Regions from separate parts of the Homo sapiens genome. Here region 2 is linked to region 1. Evidence: promoter capture Hi-C in human tissues and cell types (Jung and others, 2019). All regions are on one chromosome and are shown on one strand. Each heading gives the region's core, a stretch centred on a gene start or on the middle of the fragment in contact. The rest is flanking DNA. Distances are from core to core; before and after follow the strand shown.

The links. Contacts are between HindIII fragments. The study calls those that stand out against the background at their distance.
Region 2: a fragment that was not itself captured here is called in contact with the fragment with the promoter of PPIH in region 1 in 1 of the 25 tissues and cell types used here (pancreas).

The regions. Positions count from the first base shown.
Region 1 is chr1:42,656,130-42,660,438 of GRCh38, reverse strand. It overlaps PPIH (peptidylprolyl isomerase H), which reads right to left and starts at 2,016. Exons shown (of 10, transcript NM_006347.4): 1 at 1,927-2,016; 2 at 1,531-1,595; 3 at 1,188-1,211; 4 at 873-917. The coding sequence starts at 1,992. CCDC30 (coiled-coil domain containing 30) reads right to left here. Exons shown (of 21, transcript NM_001395517.1): 21 at 3,249-4,309. The region is part of intron 1 of LOC124904162 (a long non-coding RNA gene); the gene reads left to right. The HindIII fragment of the contact is 7,698 bases long and covers 1-4,309 here.
Region 2 is chr1:42,717,106-42,721,414 of GRCh38, reverse strand. No RefSeq gene overlaps it. Among named protein-coding and RNA genes, the nearest start is that of CLDN19, 21 kb to the left of the region's middle. The HindIII fragment of the contact is 7,093 bases long and covers 1-4,309 here.

The DNA of each region.
Region 1 (4,309 bases), core at 767-3,266:
AAACAAAACAAAAAAAACCTGAAGATTATTCTTTTCCTGAATGATTAAGCTGAAAGGATAATTAACCATAAAAAAGGATTTTCGTTATAAATTAGGGCATGTTAGAGTTGATCAAGTGCATGATCTGGTACCTGAACAGTAATAAGAAGAAGGGGCTGAAAGCTTACTTGCCAAAGCAAAAGGCAGAGCAAGGGTTTGATGTAAATTTGGGGGAAAGAACTACAGAGAATTTATGTGAAATGTACTGCTAAACATGTAAGGGCTTAACAACTGTTAGCTATTACCCCTAGGGAGGGTCCTTAACCTTTCTTATCCTCAGTTTCCTCCTCTGTAGAATGCAGATCACCCATACCACTTCACAGGAGTCTTACTGGGGATTAGAGACCCAAAGCTCTAAAGCTGTGATATAATTATGTGCTAACATTGTTACTAACCACAGTGAGGCCATGAGAAAGATTCTATATTGAAATGAGACTAAGTGTTGACATACTCCACTCCCCAGGAAATATGATTATCCTTGGACAATCATATATGATCATTTTAGGAATTAGTTATAAATATCAACCAGCAGGATATATTATATGCACTTTAGGATTACAAGTGTACTTTTTAAAAAATCTGCATTCGCACAAACAAGTGCATGAAAAAGACAAGATATTGTAAAGATGAGTAGTTTCTGTTTTAAAGACCTAAGAAGTGGGGGAGTGTAAGTAGAGTTAGAACATTTAATAAATCTTCAGTTGTTGAGTCCACAAAAACATTTCTTCTCAAGAAATGTAAGAATTACCCTCTGGTTTTATTTTCCTCTAAAGAGCCTAATCCCCCAGGAAATATTTCTGAAAGACTCCAGGATGGCTTGCCAAGAGCCTTACCTGTGGAAGGTGCTTCCTTTGTATCCTATTGGAACCCCATCTTTCCTATAACCGAAAAGAAAGAGACTTGGAGTGACAGCAGGTAGCACAAGGCCTTTCCAGTTTACCATGCACTGGAGCCAAAAGGACTCTCCTAAAGATGGTTGACAGACATAAAGAAGGCAAATAAACTAGGGACAGACCCTTGGGGCATTACCTTCTATCACTGTCACCAGCAATCATTCAAGGCCAGCAGGTGGTTCACCGATACCCTCACTGCAGCCCCAGAACACCCCTCTGGAGCAGGCAAAGAAGTCAAACACATCTGAAACTGACCTGAATTCTCCGGTGCAGAACTGCCTGAAAGGGACAAAAAATGAATGATTCAATCACTATGATGTCACAGTCGTGAGCGCCTCTAAATACGGGAAAGAATAAACACTGGAGCCAGCAAGTCCACCAATCGGCCAGCCAGACGTCCAGACACGCAGTCACACAGACTAACAACGTAAATTAACACGGGAACAATCCAAACGGCAACCAGACAGAGCAATGCATGGAGGAATCAGGTCTCAAGAGCAGTGAGCGGACGGACAGAGGTAGACAGGCTATTTCAGGCGGCTGACTGGAGCCCGACTTCTGCCTCAGCTAATCCAGCGGAGCTGGAGCACGTCCTTACCTAAAGTTCTCGGCCGTCTTAGGCACAACGTCTGCAAAGAGCTCGATCTTCATGCGGCCAACTTCCTGCAATCAGCGGGAGAGTGTCAGAAGGCCCAGTCCAAGACCATGAGGGCTTCACGGAGCAGGGGGCATGATGGGCTGACCCACCACCCTGCCGCTCGGTATCTCCCACCTCCGCCTCCCTAGTCTAACCGCCCAGTTCCTCCAGAAGCGGGGCGCTAGGATTGGGGAGACTCCTCCTCCTCCTTTCCCCCCGCCCGGCAGGTCGGTAGGTTCGGGTGCAATTTCACTTTCTGGCTGGCTTCCCGAGTCCGCTCTCTCTGGGTGAGTTCTGCCTGCCTAGCCCCGAGCAGTTTCCCTTCGGCGCAGGTGTGGGCAGCCTCCTGGATCTCACCTGACCGCCAATACTGACATCAAAGAACACCACGGGGTTAACAGGACTTGAATTTGCCACCGCCATGGCTCCGACCCGGAAGCAGAAGTCGGGAGCGTGGGATTCCGGCGAACCTAAAGCCCGGTCCGCGGATTTCGTCCGGGGAGCAGGCGCGGTAGACGTGGAGCGAGACCAGGCTCCGCCCCCGGAAGCTGTCGCCCCGTGCGGTGTGTGCTGAGACTGCTAGGGTCTAGCTGAGAGACTCTGCCTGGCACTGGGGACGCGGGAGTGAGGAGGAGGAAAGCCTTGACATCTTTTTGGTTAAGGTCAATGGTCACCCCACTCACGTGGCTGTACTAAGGGCAGTACAAGTTGATCTTGCTCTAGCTAGGACTTTTGGACTAGGCAGTCGCCAGGGTCCTCCTTATCGGCTCTTGCAGCCAAGCCCTCTGCACCGCCACACGTGCTGTCTGTCTTCTGCCCGCTAGTGTGAACACCGTGAAGGCAGGAACTCTGGTTTGTTCATCCTCAGCGTTTAGAACAGCTTGGCACGTACAGGCTTGCTAAGTAAATATCCCTTCCTCTAAGTCAGGACAATAGATAATGTTTGTTCTGCCACAAAAGCTACCAGTTTTGTCATTTCCAATTCATTTCCCATAAAGCAACTAGAGTTTTTTATTTTTTATTTTTAAAATAACTCTTGTGCTTCCTATTTATTTTAAAAATAACTCCTGGCTTCCCATATTTAGAATAAAATCCAATTCCGTGCATACGAAGCCCTACAGTGCATTTATCTGGCTATCACGTACCTGACCTCATCTTGTACCACTTGCCCTTAGTTACTGTGCTCTGACCTGTCTGTTCCTCCAGGTCACTGAGATCCCTCCTCTCTTTAGGGCTTTGTAATAGCTGTTACTTCTGTCTGAAATATTCCTTCCAGAACTTAATGTGGGTTGGCGGGGGATTGTGGGGGTTGGTTGGGGTATGCGTGTGGGAAGTAATGCTCCTTGTAGTTCAGGGCTCACCCCAGATGTTACCTCCTGAGAGGCAACATTAGACCTAATCTAAAGTAGCCCTTGGTCATTCAGATCACTGGTTTGTTTTCTTCATGCCACCCCCACTTCCACATTATCTTCGTATGGTATGTGTCTACACCTCATTTCCTGCCACACACACATAATCTTCCTCCCTGATAGCATATAAACTCCATGAAAGTAGAGACTCTCCTGGTCCTATTCGCAGCTGTAGCTGCAATGTCGCCTACTGAATAGCATATAGTAGGTATTCAATAAATAATAGATGCAATGAATTTAGTGAAAGAAGGGGACCTTGGGCAAGGCTCATTCAATATAACAGCATGCATTTAATAAAATAGTTATTATTTCCTAGTTCCTATGATCATCTTTCTAGCTCTGTTGTCTGAGAAAGCAAGGATTACATATAAAAATACAGTGTGTCTCAATGTAAAGGGTCATTTTTATTTCTGGTTACTGATCCTCTCCTCTTGGTCTCCTCCAACTGAAAAAGAAGAAAGGGGAGGAGGGGGAAAAGGAACAGCAGCAGTCACGCTTCAGTATAATTTTATACCAACTGTTTTAGAATAAATCTTTAAAATTGATAATATCCAATGTTGATGAGGTTGTGAAAAAAATAGTACATTGATAAACCTCTAGTGAAAATAAATGATGATAGCATTTATTAAGCAGTTACTACGTGCTAAATACTTTACATGCTTCATTTCATTTGGTCCTCACAACCCTATGGGATAGAGAACTATTATTGTTCCCATTTTAGGAATCAAGAAATTGAGGCTCAAGGAGGTTGAGTAACTTGACTATGAAAACAGTATGTTGACACACTTTTTATTTATTTTATTATTTATGTATTTATTATTATTATTTTTTGAGACAGAGTCTCACTTTTTGCCCAGGCTGGAGTACAGTGGAGTGGTCTCAGCTCACTGAAACTTCTACCTCTTGGGTTCAGGTGATTCTCGAGCCTCAGCCTCCCGCATAGCAGGGACTACAGGTGTGCACCACCATACCCGGCTAATTTTTGTATTTTTAGTAGAGACAGGGCTTTGCCATGTTGGCCTGGCTGGTCTTGAACTCCTGGCCTCAAGTGATCCACCTGCCTCGGCCTCCCAAAATGCTGGGATTATAGGCGTGAGCCACCGCACCTGGTCAGGCAGAACCCTTTTTTAAAGCAAAGGAAGTGATGTCCTAGAGCAATATTAACATTTATATCCTTTGACTCAGTCCAATCTTGCGAATTTGTTTTCTGGAGTAATTCAAAAGAAGAAAAGAACTACATGCACAAAGACCTTCAACACAGCATAATCTTAAATAGTAACAAAGTAAAACCAGGCCTGGCATAGAGGCTCATCCTATAATCCTATCACCTA
Region 2 (4,309 bases), core at 1,096-3,595, 61 kb before region 1:
TGTCTGTATATCAAAGATCAGCATGAGGTTTAACTTCAGGTGTTTCCAGGTCTTTTGGCACCCTGAACTCTTCCCTGGGATGTGCAGTGACTTTCTAATTTCCCCTGTATATGCTTTTTGAGTTTTTAGTCTTTAATGTCTGGATCCCAAGAGGGGAAAAGATAATGAAAGGGGAAGGACCCAGATTATAAGAAGTCCCTTTCAATTCCCTGGAAGCCGCTTCAGCTGGAGGGGAGGGGTTTGCATAGCAGGAGAGGTACAACAGCAGCTGCTCACCTCTGTGTCTGCACCTCCTTGATCAGTGATGAGAACACAGTTAATCATTAACATTAATCAGTGATGAGAACACAGTTCCCTGATACTTGGAGGACTTGGTCTTTATTGTCCACCCTGGCTCCTGCAAACTGTTTGCAGGCTCCTCCTGGAACACATGCACAGCTTCCTGCCATGGGGTTAGGGGAGAAGGGGATAGGTAGCTGCAGCTGAGCTGGGAGTTGAAATGGATTGGAATTAACTGCAATTTCACATCCAAGCCTCCTCTGGAAGTTGCAAGACTTCAACAGACTCCAAAATAATTACATCAAACAGATTGTCAGTGTACTTATTGTCCGTGTTGTGGGGGCAGGGCAAAATGCTGTTGCTTCCTACTCATCCAGGATTTTCCCAGAATCCTCTCACCTTCTTTTTATTTTTTAATTTTTATTTATTTATCTTTTTTTGAGACAGTGTCTTGCTTTGTCGCCCAGGCTGGAGCGCAGTTGCTCCATCTCAGCTCACTGCAACCTCTGCCTCCCAGGTTCAAGCGATTCTCCTACCTCAGCCTCCCGAGTAGCTGGAACTACAGGTGTGCACCACCACGCCCAGCTAATTTTTCTATTTTTAGTAGAGATGGGTTTTCACCATGTTGGCCAGGCTGGTCTCAAACTTCTGACCTCAAGTGATCTGCCTGCCCCAGCCTCCCAAATTGCTGGGATTACAGGTGTGAGCCACCATGCCCAGCCCTCACCTTCCTACTTTTTAAATGATGCTTTTTATGATAGTCTGGGTCCTCCAAACAGTAGACCCCCTAGTGGGATTAAATATGTAAGAATTTTATTAGGGAAATATTTGTGAGAGAAAATGGAGAGGCAGCTGGGAGAGCCATCCCACAGTGATGCCAGCCTGGCCCAGGATGCTGGGTGGAAGCATCCTAGATCACTACATAAGTCTAAGGAAAGCTTGGCATGAGCATCAGGGGAGACCTTGAGGCATAGTCGGCTGTCAGTCCCATGTCTCCCAGGAAAAGGCCTGTTTTAGAATCCCTGCCACACTCAGCCATCAGCTTGGGAGCATTTGGTAAGCAGAGCCTCAGGGCAAATAAGGTGGTAAATTTTAGAGCAAAGCAACTCCGGCCCTTGGTTAATTACACTCCCTGTAGTTGGAGGTCTATAAACCACTTTCTTGTGGCAACTACACTTTTACAGTTTACAATTTTTATACCTATTATCTCAGTTTATCCTTACATTATTCCTGTAATAATAACACAAAACTTATTTATTTTTTTGAGACAGAGTTTTGCCCTGTTGCCCAGGCTGGAGTACAGTGGTGCAATCATAGTTCACTGCAGCCTTGACTTCCCAGGCTCAAGCCATCCTCCCGCCTCAGCCTCCCAAGTAGCTGGGACTACAGGCATGTGCCATTATGCCCGGCAAAAAAAAAATTTTTTTTGTTTTCTTTTTTTTGAGACGGAGTCTCGCTCTGTCGCCCAGGCTGGAGTGCAGTGGCATGATCTCAGCTCACCGCAACCTCCGCCTCCCGGGTTCAAGTGATTCTCCTGCCTCAGCCTCCTGAGTAGCTGGGATTATAGGCGCACGCCACCACTTGTATTTTTAGTAGAGACGGGGTTTCTTCATGTTGATCAAGCTGGTCTCAAACTCCTGACCTCATGAACCACCCGCCTCGGCCTCCCAAAGTGCTGGGATTACAGGTGTGAGCCACCGTGCCCGGCCCAAAAAAAATTTTTTTAAGAGATTGGGTCTCACTATGTTGCTCAGGCTGATCTCAAACTCCTGGGCTCAAATGATCCTCCTGTCTCGGCCTCTCAAAGTGCTGAGATTACAGGCATGAGCCACTGTACCCAGTCAGCCAAGACTTATTGAGCACTAACAAAATGTGGTTTCATTGATTCTTGTTTCATCCTCACAACTTTAGGAAGTGAGTACTATTTATACCCCTTTTTTTTTAATTAGGTGTTTAATTTTCTCCCATGTCCTGGATTCCGGAGGCAAGTGGCTTCTGGTATTGGCAAAGGAGGTGATCGTTAGGACTTAAGATGAAGTTTCATTGGCAGGACTAGAGCTCAGGTTTTCTTACTCCGAGTTGCTTTCCAAGTTTCTCTCATGTGAGGACACCGTGAGGTGGTGGTGAAGGTGGCTTTGTGCAATCCATGTCAGAAGAGGACCCTCACCGGAACCAAATCTACTGTTACCTTGACCTGGACTTGCCAGTCTCCAGAACCATGAGAAATAAATATCTACTGCTTAAGCCACTTAGTCTCTGGTATTTTGCTACAGCAGCCCAAGCAGGCTAAGACATGGTTCCACAGTCCCTTTCTAGCAGCAGCCCTCGTTTCCTTCACTCAGCTGCCAAGCCTCTTCATGGTTATCCATAATTTATTAATTTCAACATACGTATTGAGCTTTTGTTCTGTACTCTTTTAGCCCCATTATAGATGCTGGGATATAGCAGCAGTGAACAAAACAGACAGAAATCCCTACCCTTATGTAGCTTAACTCCTATCAGAGCAAGATAGTTAGCAAGCAAGTTAATGTAGCCAGCAGATGACATGCACCATGGAGGAAAATCAGGAAGGCCAGGAATTGGGGGCTGGCCATGGGAAGGGGTGGCCATCTTAAACAGGTAGGCAGGGGAGGCCCTGCTGATCAAAGACCTAAAGAACTGAGGAAGAAAGCCACTAACTTATCCGGCAGAACATTCTTCCAGTCAGAAGGGAAAAACAGGTGTGAATGCCTTGAGGTGGAAGAGTGCCATGAAAAGGAAGCCTGTGAGGTTGGGTGGAGTAAACCAGGGGAGAGAGTAGATGGCATGGGGCAGGTGGGGGCACATTGTGGAGGCTCCTGGAGGATGCTGGCTTCTGCTCAAAAGTGAGACTGGAAGCCTCTGAAGGATTTTGAGCAGGAGTGTCTCGAGGCCTGACACAGGTGTTAGGGTAGGAAGATGGTAGCAGGGAGGCTACCACAGCCTGGACCCAAGTGGTCAGAGGTAAGTGGTCAGATTCTAGCTGTTTCAAAGTCAGAATCAATGGAATCTGCAGACTCATTGGAGGGAAATTGAGAAGTCAAGGATGACTGAGGGTTTTGGCATGGACCTGTAAGGATGGACCAGCCATTGTGGAGATGCGGAAGGCTGCGGGAGCAGCAGGTGCGCTGTAGCTGCCCTATGCACCCCTCGCCTGCTGCAGTCTGAGGGTCACCTCCACATTCCACTCCTCTCACCAGTCATCTCCTGGTTGCTAAGGCCAGTAAACACTTTTCAACTCCCATCTTCTTGGACCTATTGGCTTTGATGTTGTGAGCAATTTCCTATTTTGCTCCCCAGTTTTCTGTGATGCCCCCTTTCTGGATTTGCCACATCTTTTTCTAGCCATCACTTCTATGTCTTGACCTTGTTCCAAAAGTTTGTGTCTCCATCCTCATCTCTCCACAAATGCCCCTAAAGGGATATGATTTTACCCATGATCACAGCTTCCAATAGCCACCTGATGAGTGTCACTCTGCCTCGGCCTACACCTCCCTCCTTAGCTTCCGACACACTCCCCATGGGTGCCCCCACAGGTCCTCAAACTCCACATATCTCAACTGAGCTATCAGACCCCTCTCCTCTTTATGCATGTTTTTATTCCAGCGAATGACAGTATCTGCATCAACATTCTGCAGTCATCCGTGCATTCAGCTAGTTACCTACATCTGCCAACTCGATTTCTGAAAATATCTCAAACTTGAGCCCCTCTTTCTTACTCCATATTTCTGGTTGAGGTCTCATTACTCATCTGGACTTTGGGACCTAACCTGTCATGCATTACACTTGACTGTGTGCCTCAGTCTCAGCTAGGCGTCCAAACTTCCCCAGTCAGCTGTCACTGCCTGACTGTTAATTCTCATTAGCTCTCTACATCTCCTAATCTAACTCAATATAGCTCCCTTCCCAACCTTCTCAGGGGCCCGCTGGAATTCAGGTACAGCCTCTTCTGTGTATGTTCTTATTCAGCTTTTTACTCTTTCTCTAATCATACTTACCTCCACAACCTTAT